3 separate regions of the Homo sapiens genome follow, and all the other regions are linked to region 2. The links are contacts of gene promoters, found by promoter capture Hi-C in human tissues and cell types (Jung and others, 2019). All regions are on one chromosome and are shown on one strand. Each heading gives the region's core, a stretch centred on a gene start or on the middle of the fragment in contact. The rest is flanking DNA. Distances are from core to core; before and after follow the strand shown.

The links. The method cuts DNA at HindIII sites, captures the fragments that hold promoters and counts their contacts. A contact is called where the count stands out against the background at its distance.
Region 1: a contact is called between a fragment that was not itself captured here and the fragment with the promoter of NOB1 in region 2, in 1 of the 25 tissues and cell types used here (dorsolateral prefrontal cortex).
Region 3: a fragment that was not itself captured here is called in contact with the fragment with the promoter of NOB1 in region 2 in 1 of the 25 tissues and cell types used here (bladder).

What each region holds. Positions count from the first base shown.
Region 1 is chr16:69,440,173-69,444,387 of GRCh38, forward strand. The region is part of intron 1 of CYB5B (cytochrome b5 type B); the gene reads left to right. It also overlaps the pseudogene LOC100420066. Among named protein-coding and RNA genes, the nearest start is that of CYB5B, 18 kb to the left of the region's middle. RefSeq lists a silencer at 3,333-3,615 and enhancers at 3,962-4,041, 4,072-4,215. The HindIII fragment of the contact is 5,837 bases long and covers 1-4,215 here.
Region 2 is chr16:69,752,481-69,756,881 of GRCh38, forward strand. It overlaps NOB1 (NIN1 (RPN12) binding protein 1 homolog), which reads right to left and starts at 2,446. Exons shown (of 9, transcript NM_014062.3): 1 at 2,368-2,446; 2 at 2,114-2,246. The coding sequence starts at 2,430. It also overlaps the pseudogene NONOP1. RefSeq lists enhancers at 1,492-2,115, 2,116-2,738. The HindIII fragment of the contact is 4,198 bases long and covers 391-4,401 here.
Region 3 is chr16:69,479,446-69,483,661 of GRCh38, forward strand. No RefSeq gene overlaps it. Among named protein-coding and RNA genes, the nearest start is that of CYB5B, 57 kb to the left of the region's middle. The HindIII fragment of the contact is 7,934 bases long and covers 1-4,216 here.

The DNA of each region.
Region 1 (4,215 bases), core at 939-3,438, 310 kb before region 2:
CCCATCTTAAACATTTTTAAGTGTACAATTCAATTGTTTTAAATATTGAATATTGAATATTGTTGTGAATCAGATCTCTAGAACTTTTACATCTTACAAAAATGAGACTATACTCATTAAACAAATTCCCTTTTTTTCCTTCCCCAGTGCCTGGCAATCACATTCTACTTTGTGTTTCTATGAATTTACTTTACATACTGCCTATATTTTTGAGATTTAGCCATAAGATGTCACTGTAGTAAGTGAACACACTTGTATAACCACCATCTGGTTCTTCCTCATCCCCAGAGGTACCCACTGTATTACCATAACAGCATAGATTCATTTTGCCTGTGTTTGAACTTTTTATAAATGGAAATTTCACAGTATATATTCTTTTGTGTCTGGTTTCTTCAGTTCAACATGTTGCATTCTCATGTGTTGTGTATGTGGCAGTGGTTCGTTCTTTTTCATTGCAGATTAGGATTCCATTGTATGATTATATCTCATTTTGTACATACTCTGCTGTAGATGTTTGGGCTGTTTCCAGTTTGGGACTGTAATGAATAATGCTGCTATGGCCGTGTGTGTTGCGTGTGTGTGTGTGTGTGTGTGTGTAAATACATATATCTATTACACATTTCTCTTTAGTATATATTAGGGGATCTCATTTGATTTTTTTTTTTTTAAAGAGATAGTGTCTCACTATGTTGTCCAGGATGGTCATGAACTCCCAGGCTCAAGCGATCCTTCCACCTTGGCCTCCCAAACTGCTGGGATTACAGGCCTGCGCCGCCGTGCCTGGCCTTCATTTGATTTTTTAATGGAAATTTTTATTGAGATAATTGTAGATTCATATGTAGTTGTAAGAAATGATAGAGATCCTTTGTACTCTTCTCTCATTTGTAACATTTTGCAAGACTTTAGTATGGTATCACAACCAGGATATTGACATTAATCAGTCCACAGATATTATTCTGATTTCCCAGTTTTACTTCTCTCTTTTTTTTTTTTTTTTTTGAGATGGAGTCTTGCTCTGTTGCCCAGGCTGGAGTGCAGTGGCACAATCTCAGCTCACTGCAACCTCCGCCTCCCGCGTTCAAGTGATTTTCCTGCCTCAGCCTCCTGAGTAGCTGGGACTTACAGGCACATGCCACCACATCCAGCTAATTTTTTGTATTTTTAGTACAGACAGGGTTTCACCATGTTGGCCAGGATGGTCTCGGTCTCCTGACCTCGTGATCCGCCCGCCTCAGCCTCCCAAAGTGCTGGGATTATAGGCGTGAGCCACCACGACTGTCCTTACTTCTCTTTGATTTATTTCTTAAAGAGAAAGCGAGATGGTTTAATTTGTAGTCAAGAGTCATTTCTTCTTGATTACAGTGCTCATTATGCAAATTTCATCTACCTGTTGATACAGAAATGGTACCCTGCCACTTCCCTGGACATTTATTCCAGACAGAAAAATTCCTGTGCAACCCTCACCTAGATGTCTGCCAGCAGTTGATCTCTCTGCCTTCTTAAAAAGTTATGTAAACTCTTATCTAGAATATCTGGGGTTTTTAGTTCAACTGACTGGACATATACAGTATAGAAACTCATTTTTTTTCAGTGGGTTTGATAATATTCTCAACTCTAGATCAAGAACTTCCCATTACTTAACCTGTCTTTGATGATCCTGAAAGTTCCCTAGATGGGAAATAGATCTGGCAGTATGTCAGGGTCACTAATTTTCCCTGGATAGTATTAAAATATATAGAAGGTTTGCTACTTTTCCTGGCCCTGGATAATCTGTCTGAAAAGAGTTTGTGTGAATGAAGTTTTCACGTATTTGCTCTTCATGTCATCCTGTAGGCTCAGAATGAACAATACAGGGAGATTCATTTTGCTTATCTATAGTTTCTAAATTTTTGGTAATGAAAATTATTACTTTTGTAAAGAAAGTTATAAAAATACTAACAATTAAATATAAAAATGCAGGGTGCTTGGATCTCAAAATAGGAGCTTACTGTGATTAAAAGTCAGACTGCATATAATAATTAGTTATAATTAATAATGCTTTTTCTTTCTTTGTTTACATGAAATCTTTCAGAAAATAATAATGCTTTTTCAAAGATTGAATTTTTGGTAAATGTTTATATTTTGGCTAGCTTAAGTTTTCCCCTTTCTCTGCCTCTCATTTCTAGAGTCACCAGAAGGAAAATGTAAAACATTTTTTAAATGGCTCTTTCCCTGTAAATCATCCAGCACACACACTGCATTTTTTCTAGTTTCAGGCATAAAGGGAAACCTGGCTCAGATAAGAATGATCCTTGCTGCATGCTCAGCGGCTCATATATCTTTCTTTTTAAATTATTATTTTTTACTTTTTAATATTTATGTATTTTTAATTTTTTTAGTGACAGGGTCTCCGTTGCCCAGGCTGCAGTGCAGTGGCGCCATGCCTCGAATTCCTTGGCTTCTGGATGATCCTCCTAATTCAGCTTCCTGAGTAGCCAGGACTACAGGCCACCATGCCTGGATAATTTTTTAATTTTTAAAATTTTTTTTGTGGAGAACAAGGTCTTGCTTGGTTGCCCAGGTTGGTCTTGAATTCCTGGCCTCAAGCAATCTTCCTGCCTTGGCCTCCCAAAGTGTTGGGAATACAGGTGTGAGCCACTGTGCCTAGCTATCCTTTTTTTTTTTTTTTTTTTAAATTCTGAGAGTCTCTAGCTCAAACACAAGTTAGCAGGTTAAGGACTACTCCAAGTTCTGGCAGAGCTAATTTTTACTACTTGGTCTTCAAAAAATAGAGGCTTTTTTAAAAATTTTTTTTGTGACAGAGCTTCACTGTATTGCCCAGGCTGGAGTGCAGTGGTGCGATTGTGGCTCACTGAAAACTTCGCCTCCCGGGTTCAAGTGGTTTTCCCGAATAGTTGGGATTACAGGTGAGCGCCAGCATACCCAGCTAATTTTTGTACTTTTAGTAGAGACAGGGTTTCACCACGTTGGCCAGGCTGGTCTCAAACTCCTGGCCTCAAGTGATCCGCCCTCTTCAGCCTCCCAAAGTGTTGGGATTACAGGCGTGAGCCATGGCACTTGGTCTTGTAACTCCTTTTTGAACATAACTTCAAAGTGAAGGCCTTTGCCCATGAGCTCTTTGACATCATCTGGTGTCCACTGGTGACCCATCAGCTCCAGAACTTTCTACTTTGTCTTGGAAGCTTTGCTGGTTTCTGTGGGCATGGCCATGGCTGCTCTGGTCATCTGCTCCTGCCTCATTTCTTATTGGTCAGTTGCCATTATCTTGGCCTAGAATCACAGTAAATTCTCTGAAGCCCAAATACGTTGAGGAAATACCAGGATGCAGAGCTCATTCAGGGTGGATCTAATGTGAGTAGTTTGATAACTTGCTGCAGCATAGGCTTAAAACCAGAGGGTCGGCCGGGTGCAGTGGCTCATGCCTGTAATCCCAGCACTTTAGGAGGCCGAGGCGGGTGAATCACCTGAGGTCAGGAGTTCGAGACCAGCCTGGCCAACGTGGTGAAACCTTGTCTCTACTAAAAACACAAAAATTAGCTGGGCATGGTGGCAGGCACCTGTAGTCCCAGCTACCTGGGAGGCTGAGGCAGGAGAATCGCTTGAACTTGGGAGGCAGAGGTTGCAGTGAGCCGAGATTGTGCTACTGCATTCCAGCCTGGGCAACAGAGTGAGACTCCGTCTCAAAACAAACAAACAAACAAACAACAACAACAAAAAACAGAGGGTCAGTGGAAATAGGACCTTGGTTGCAACAATGCCTGAGTATGTCAATGTTGATCCATTCACAAGTAAGAATCATAGGGATGACGTTTGTTATATTTCCTTTCATCATGCCTGAGAGCATAGTGGGAGGAAGTGGTGATATTTTTATCCTCTGGGTTGTTGATGTAATATTCTCATGTCAAGAAAAAGACTTTTTGGGAATGTAATTTCCATTTTCACTGAAGGCTCTGCTTCAAATTAGGACTTAACTGTCAGATACTTGCTCCTGGGTGAGCTTCTTGTCGCTCTGTACCAGGATGAACATGTAGTGGCAGATCATATCTGAGAAGAAGCAGATGATAAACATGGGCGGGACCATCCAGTGGCTGACGCTGGAGTTGGACAGTAGCTCCTACCCTCTGTCTTCACTGAGAGCTGGTCTGGCTTCTCCTGGGGTGCCGGGGCTCTTTGGGTTTTCGTCGAGGCCTTCGTATGCTCCTCAGCCTGGGCATT
Region 2 (4,401 bases), core at 1,196-3,695:
CAAAACAATTTAGAAAGGATCACTATGTCATGAAAAACCTTAACACTTTCATCCATTTTCTGACCTTTTCCTACTCGCAGTTGAGAAATTTGTATTCTCCACCACCAAGATTCATGCCAGTTAGATTTACTGTAACACCCTTATCAAATACAGAGGAAGGAGCAGAAAGTTGGCTGGGGCCAGGCGTGGTGGCTCACGCCTGTAATCCCAACACTTTGGGAGGCAGAGGTGGGCGGATCACTTGAGGTCAGGAGACCAGCCTGGCCAACGTGGTGAAACCTGTCTCTAATAAATATACAAAAATTATCCCGGTGTGGTAGCGGGGGGGCCTGTAATCCCAGCTACTCAGGAGGCGGAGGCAGGAGAATTGTTTGAACCTGGGAGGCGGAGGTTGCAGTGAGTCAAGATTGCGCCACTGCACTCCAGCCTGGGCGACAGAGTGAGACTCCTTCTCAAAAAAAAGAAGAAAGTTGGGGCGTGGTGGCTCACACCTCACTACAGGAGGCTGAGGTGGGTAGATCACTTGAGGTCAGGAGTTCCAGACCAGCCTGGCCAACATGGTGAAACCCCTTGTCTCCTAAAAATACAAAAGTTAGCCAGGTGTGGTGGCGTGTGCCTGTAGTCCCAGCTACTGGGGAGGCTGAGGCAGAAGAATTGCTGGAACCCAGGAGGTGGAGGCTGCAGTGAGCCAAGATCGTGCCACTGCACTCCAGGCTAGGCAACACAGCCAGACTCCATCTCAAAAAAAAAAAAGTTTCAGATTTAGGAGCATTCTGGATTTCAGATTCAGTATGCTCAACTTGTAATTGTAGTAGTCTATGAGGAAACAAAAAGCATGTGCTTAATGCATAATACATGTCAGACTGCTGTTATTCTCCAGAGTCATCCATAATAAACACTTAAAATTTCCTGAAATTAACAGAAAGATGTCTCCTGCTACCCTGGTACAAGGAACACTAGGTATATTGCTCTTATTTCCTAAAAAACAGACATTAGCAGCAACGAAAATTTACTGTGCACTTACTGTGTACTAGGCACTGCATTAAAAGCTTTATGTGTTAATGCATTTCATCCTTTGCCATTCTTCAAAAGTACTATTAGTATTTCCTCGGAAAGATTTAGTAAGTTGGCAAAGATCACAGAGCTACTAAGTTGGTGGAGAAAATCGTAGAAATCACAAACAGAGGAGGTAACATCATCTCCACTATCAGCCTCTAACCTCTAAAACACTTCCAACCACTGAGGGGCCTTTCCTGGGTATCACCTTGATTCCCAACAAGAGAACAACGCTGACTCCTAAGCCAAGAGACAATTCTTTAATTTTCTTTATTTCTTATTTTTTTTGAGACAGAGTCTCGCTCTGTCGCCCAGGCTGGAGTGCAGTGGTACGATCTCGGCTCACTGCAACCTCCACCTCCAGGTTCAAGCAATTCTCCTGCCTCAGCCTCCCAAGTAGCTGGGATTACAGGAGCACACCACCACGCCCAGCTAATTTTGTATTTTTAGTAGAGGCAGGGTTTCACCATGTTGGTCAGGCTGGTCTCAAACTCCTGACCTCAGGTGATGCGCCCGCCTCGGTCTCCCAGTGCTGGGATTACAGGCCGTAAGCCACCGCGCCCAGCTTAATTTTCTTTCACATTTAATACAATGCAAAGCATTCCCTTTTTAAAGCTCTGCCAGGTGCAGATCTTTGTATCCAGTCATCAGCCCAATCTACTGAAAAGAAATGGACGAGAGTAATAGCAAGAGATCCAAACTCTTATTTTAAATCCAAATAAATTTATTGCTTGTCTGCAAAGTGCTTGACACTGAGCTGACTGCCATATTCCTCAGTTCATGCTCACAGCAACCTTGGAGACAGATACAATTATTATTCCCATTTTGCGGATGAGGTAAACGAGGCCCAAATTTGAATGCTATGCCCGAGAGCATACAGCTAGTTACTGGAGGACTCCAGACCCAGGAAGCCTCTCTCCTACCACAATCTCCTAGAAAGTGCTGGCTCTAAATCTACTGCTCTGATAAGGCAGCTAGACCCCAACTCGCACCCAACTGGGTGCCATCTGCGCCCTGGACCCCAGCTTCCCGTCAACGCTAGGGCAGAGGCACTCACCCAGCCGCACGTATTCCGGTAAGGGCTCCTTGAACCGCAGCTCGTAGGGCAGGACAGCGAGCCGCCTGCGTGTGGCCTTGTCCCGAATCTCAGTGACCACCTCCCGGATGGTGTAAATGTTCTTCCCGATGTCCTGCGGACAGAACGCCCCAGCTCAGACCCACCCGCACCAAGCAACGCTCCGCGCGACTCCACGCACTCCGGGAGGGGCGGCCAGCCCAGATCTCTCTCGTCCCGGAGGGAGCTCCCCGTACCTGCAGAGCCGCATGCCGCAGGAAAGCCCCAGCATCCGCCACAACGTGCTCCACTGGAGCCATGTTGGCTGCGTGAGAGGGGAGCGCGCATGCGCACGGAGCTTGCGCCGGCTCCTATGTCCAAGTCTGGGCCTCTGGGAACCAGGAAGAGCAGCCGCGACTTAGCTGCGCCTCCTGGCGGCCGCGCCAGCACCTCCCTGCTCTACTCGCGCGCATGCGCAGCGACGCCGCCCGCATAGCCAGAGAAGTGTGGGCGGGGTCAAACCTTGGGGGACACCTGGGAAATCGGCTTCAGCATCTAGACCTTAGTGCCTTCTTCACCTTTGAAGATAAAACCTGCCAGGTGTAGTGGTGCGCGCCTAGAGTCCCAGCTATTAAGGAGGCTGAGGCGAAAGGATTGCCTGAGCCCTGGAATGTGAAACCAGCCTGGGCAACATAGAGAGACCCCCATCTCTTCAATAAATAAATAAATTTAAAACCTGTATATATTCTTATGGTTAAAAGTCAATCAATACAGATTACCTAATTTCGTTATCACAGCACCCCTATGAGATAGGTACTGTTTTTTTTTAAAGGCTTAAAATGTATTTTAATAGGTCGATGCTGCATTACTGCTCCAGTTCTCAGAAAAACTCCAAATATATCAGAGACAAATCAAATACAATACACCAATGGAAAAAAAAGGCACAGCATGACTACCTAAGATAGGCGAGTCTAAGAGCTACTGTCAGACCTTCAGTATACAGTAACCCTGTTCCCAAGATTGTACTAGGCCTATCAAGAAAAGCTGTGAACAGCAGTATCATAGACACAAAAGGGTCATTCCTGGGTGTCCTCACCCAAGAAAAAGATGGAGGCAAGTTAACACAAGATTTTTTTTTAAAGATATACTAAAATGAAAATCTCTAAGAGAAAATGTCTTCTTTAGGACATGAAGGGGTAATATATGGGATATAATAGAACCGTATGTACGTTGCCTGTGACCTTTGTGGACGTTTACCTGAATTCTCACCTGGGAGTGAATGGAGCAATGCGGCTAAGGTCATTGGGGGATGTTTGGTTTTTGTGGTGTATGTGGCAGTTTCTCTGGGACTGGGGGAGTGTAAGGATAAGAAAGCAAGTGAGGTTGGGCACGGTGGCTCACCCCTGTAATCCCAGCATTTTGGGAGGCTGAGGCAGGGGATCACGAGGTCAGGAGTTCAAGATCAGCCTGGACAAGCTTGAACCCGAGAGGCAGAGATTGCAGTGAGCCGAGATCGTGCCACTACACTCCAGCCTGGGCGACAGAGTAAGACTCCATCTCGGGGGCAGGGCAAGCAAATGAAACAAGATGGACAAAAAAAAAAAAAAAAAAAAACAACAAACAAACCAAAAAAACAGAATGATCAAGATTAATGGGCTCTAACTGGATCTACTTTGCCATGGTTTCCCCAGGCCCTCAACAATCACATTTGAGACTTCAGGAATGCACCACACAGAACTGATTAAATAATATACTACATAGAATTGACTTGTTTAATACCACCCCTCCCTTGTCCTCTGCCTCCAGCATACTCCCTAGAGTAGTACAGGCAGGGTAGATCTAACTATTGGAAGGAATCCCTAACACTTTTCCAGGGTAGAATTCTGGCTGGTCCAAAAAGGGTCCTTCTTTTAAGGGTTTTGAGAAACTAGACACTGCAACTTATTAGTATCGGCGACGTTTGTTTGGAGCAAATTCAGCTCCAGGAGCTGCATGGTTGAATGCAGGAGGAGTTTCACCAATTGCCCCAATTCCTTCCATTGTAGCAGCCTGACCAAAGCGTTCAGTTGTTGGTGGGGTCAATCCCAAAGTTCCATCCGGCATCATAGTGGCAGGTCCTGGAGGAGCTGGGGTACCAGCTGGCACAGGAGCAGGGGTCAAGGCACCTCTGCTGTTTATGCCCATAGCACCTCCCATAGCCATCTGACCCATCCAAATCTCCTGCTCTCTCACATCAGGGAAGGTTCCCTTGAATCCTTCCTGCTGTGGCTGCATCATTTCTTCTTGCTGCC
Region 3 (4,216 bases), core at 1,027-3,526, 270 kb before region 2:
CCGGCTAATTTTTTTATTTTTATTATTTTTTTAAATTTTTAGTAGAGACAGGGTTTTGCCATGTTGGCCAAGCTGTTCTCAAACTCCTGACCTCAGGTGATCTGTCTGCCTTGGCCTCCCGAAGTGCTGGGATTACAGGTGTGAACCACCACACCCACCTCAATCTACTGTTAATGGACATTAGGTCATTGGTTTTTTTTTTTGTTTTTTTTTGTTTTTTGCCAACAATACTACTATGAGCATTACTGCGTTTATAGCCTGGTTTGTGTGTGCAAGAATGTCTCCTGGATGTATACCTTGGAGTGGACCTGCAGTGTTGAGCCTTCCTTTGATTCACATCCTTGTCTGTTTGGGTTCTTTTCCATGCAGATGCCAATAACTGGGACCACAGGATAAAGAAAGTACTGGGTAGCCCCATGGAAAACACAGTATGCTTCCTCAAAAAGTTAAACATAGAGTTACCATGTGACCCAGCAATTCCACTCTTAGATATGTACCCAAGAGTATTGAAAACATGCTCACACAAAAACAAGTATGCCGATGTTCATAGCAGCTTACTCATAATAGCCCAAAGGGGCGGAAATGACCCAAACGTCTATCACCTGATGAATGGGTAAACAAAGTGTGTTGTCTCTATATACTGGAATGTTATTCAGCTATAAAAAGAAATCAAGTATTGATACATGCCCCACCATGGGTGAACCTTAAGAATACTGTGCCTAAGTGAAAGAAGCCAGACACAAATGACCACATACTGTAACTTCCATTGGAATGAAAAGTCCAAAATAGGCAAGTTCATAGAGACAGAAGGTAGATAAGTTGTTTCCGGGTGCAGGGGGAGGGGAGATGTGGGGAGTCACTGCCAAAGGGCACAGAGTTCCTTTTTGAGGGGATGAAATTAGACAGTGGTAATGGTCTCATCTCATATGTTTGTGAATACACTGAAAAACACTAAATTGTATACTTTAAAAGGGTGAATTTTGTGGTGCATAAATTCTTTTTTTTTTTTTTTTTTTTGAGATGGAGTCCTGCTCTGTCATCCAGACTGGAGTGCAGTGATGCGATCTCAGCTTACTGCAACCTCCGCCTCCTGGGCTCAAACCATCCTCCCACCTCAGCCTCCTGAGTGGCTGGGACTACAGGCGCACATCACCATGCCCAGACAATTTTTGCATTTTTAGTAGAGACGGGGTTTCCCCATGTTGGCCAGGCTGGTCTCAAACTCCTGACCTCAAGTGATCCACCTGCCTCGGCCTCCCAAAGTGCTGGGATTACAGGTGTGAGCCACCACACCCGACCCATAAATTCTTTCTTAATAAAAATGTAAATAAAATCACAATATCTTTATCATTGATTTATGTATTCAAAACACACGCATTAAGTACCTAAGACACGCCAGACATTCCCCAGCACGTTGCTGGGAAACACTGTATGAGTCAGACGTGGCCCCAGTATTGATCAGAACCATCCCCAGGCTCCTGACAGGTAACAAATGGCACATTCAAAAAGGGTCGTTGAGGAGAGTTTCATGAAGGGACATTTGCAGCCATGTGTGCAGGGCAGAGAGGAACTAGTTGAAGGCATGGTGAAGCATTTCAGGGTTGGTGACACATGGCAGCTGTTACTGCCCAGACAGGCAAGGGGAGAAAGTGGTTACTAGAGCCTGGTAAGGGTTGCAGCAGAGGGAGCGGGCAGGGTCCACAGCAGGGAGGGAGCCATCCTGGCCTCATTGTCCTCCACTCTCTCATCTCCTACTTGTGCCTCCCCTTAGGGGACACAAACCGGAAGCCTTTGGAGTTGGGAGCTTGGGGATCCTCCGTGGATGGGAACTGCGCGTGGGCGACCCAGGAGTCTGCAGAGACCCCCGAGGCACAGTCCCCATTGGTCAGCCTCCTGAGCTGTAGGCAGGAGGGGAGAGGGCTGGAGAGTGAATCGAAAGAAACAAACACAGTATGTCCAGCTGTTCCCATCCTCATAGACTCTACTTTTTATTTTTTATTTTTTTATTTTTTGAGCAAGGTCTTCCTCTGTCGCCCAGGCTGGAGTGCAGTGGCGTGATCACAGCTCACTGCAACCTTGACCTGCTGGGCTCAAGCGATCCTCCCACCCCAGCCTCCCCAGTAGCTGGGACTACAGGCCCATGCCACCACTTCAGGCTAATTTTTTAATTTTCTTTTTTGTAGAGACAGGGTCTCACTATATTGCCCAGGCTGGTCTCAAACCCCTGGGCTCAAGCGATCCTCCCACCTACCTCGGCCTCCCAAAGTGCTGGGACTACATTCGTGAGCCCCTGTGCCCAGCCAGCTCTACATTTTGAGTGAGGAGACAGACAGAAAAATGAAATAATTACAGAATGTGATCAACAAACAGGCTGGCATGAAGGAGGGTATCTTGGTGTGTGGGTGGGTGATGGGGTCACTTCAGATCTGGTGCTTGGGAGGATCTTTCCAAGGAGGAGGTGCTGCTTCAGCTGGGACCTGAAAGATGAGCACCTGGGTGATGAAGGCACTGTTTATTGAGATAAGAAAGCTTGGAGGAGAAACAGATTTGGGGAAGGAAACCAGGAATCCCCCTGGTTTCCTGTAAAGATAGGACATATATGCAAACACAGAAAAACAACAACTCCAGGCCCAGTGAGAATCCCTGGGGCTGCTGGAGAGGCTGAGCTGGAGCGGATGGCTGTGAGCTGACACCCAGGGCCTGCCTCTCGGAAGCCAGGACATGTGTGGACTGCGCCCTCCCTGGAGGTTACACGGAGTGCTGGCGCAGCACGCTGGCTCCGGGCCCTCCCGCTTGCTCTCAGGGCTCCTTCCAGCGTTCACTGGGACATTTGCCATGTCCTAGGTCCTTCTCTTACAAAGGCAAGAAGGGCCAGGCGAAGGGAGTGTTCGCCGAAAACCAAACGTGACACAACCTTAAATATAGGCAGGTGCTCTGATCTGATAGCACGGGTGGCCCCAGGGAGAAACATGGACTTGCCAACCATGAAGGGTCCAAAAATCTACTTAGAAAAACACTGAGGCCCATGATTAATACTGAGGTGCCCGGAGCACCAAGAGAGAAAAGCAGGCCCAACATCCTGGCTGGAGCAAAGTCAAGAGAGAAGGAGAGAAGGCAGCAGCCAGCACATGGCTCCTCCTGCGATGGGTCATCGCAGCATCTCTGTCCCGGCATCAGCCAGGGCCCACCTTCGGGTGCTTCCAGCCCACTCGACTCGGCACATCGCTGTATTTTCTTCCATCGAGATCTCTCCCCACTGGCTCTTTGCCCAGCCAGTTGCCCACAGACTGGAAAACAAAAGCTCACTGCCTTCCCTGGGGACCTGGGCTTAAGGGATGGGCCTTGGGCAGGCTGGGCGGATGCTCTGTTGATTTTTTTTTCCAAGTGCAGAGAATGTGACAGCCAATTCCTGTTGGAAGTGGCTTTTGTTTTCTTTGGAGCATGAAGCACTTTTCCTTTCTCTTGATTGTTTCAGTTCAGGTCATGTTTAGGATGGAGATGATTTGCTAGCCTAATTGCATGCCTTCCAGAACTGTGGTTCTTAACCTTTTGGGACACAGATCCTATTGCAAACCTGATAAAAAACTACAGACCAGTTCTCTAAAACACACACACACACACACACACTCTCACACACACACACTCACACACACACACACACACACTCACACATGTAAATGCCCCAAATTAAATTTTTATTTGTTAAATTTTATTTAAACTTTAAAAAATTTTAAAAAATAGGCTGGGCATGGTGGCTCACACCTGTAATCCCAGTACTTTGGGAGGCCAACATGGGTGGATCACCTGAGGTCAGGAGTTCGAAACCAGCCTGGCCAACATGGCGAAACCCCGTCTCTACTAAAAAATTAAAAAATTAGCTGGGCGTGGTGTCAGGTGCCTGTAATCCCAGCTACTCGGGAGGCTGAGGCAGGAGAATCATTTAAACCTGGGAGGTGGAGGTTGCAGTGAGCCAAGATTGCACCATTGCACTCCTGGGCAACAGAGCAAGACTCCATCTCAAAAAAAATATAATAATTTTTTTTTTAAAATAGAGATGGTTGTCTCACTATGTTGACCAGGCTAGTCTCTAACTCGTGGCCTTAAGTGATCCTCACATCTCAGCCTCCCAAAGTGCTGGGATTATAGGCAAGAGCCACTGTGCCTGGCCCCAGATTAAACATTTAATATCAACCCTAGTAGATTCAGATCCCTTGGG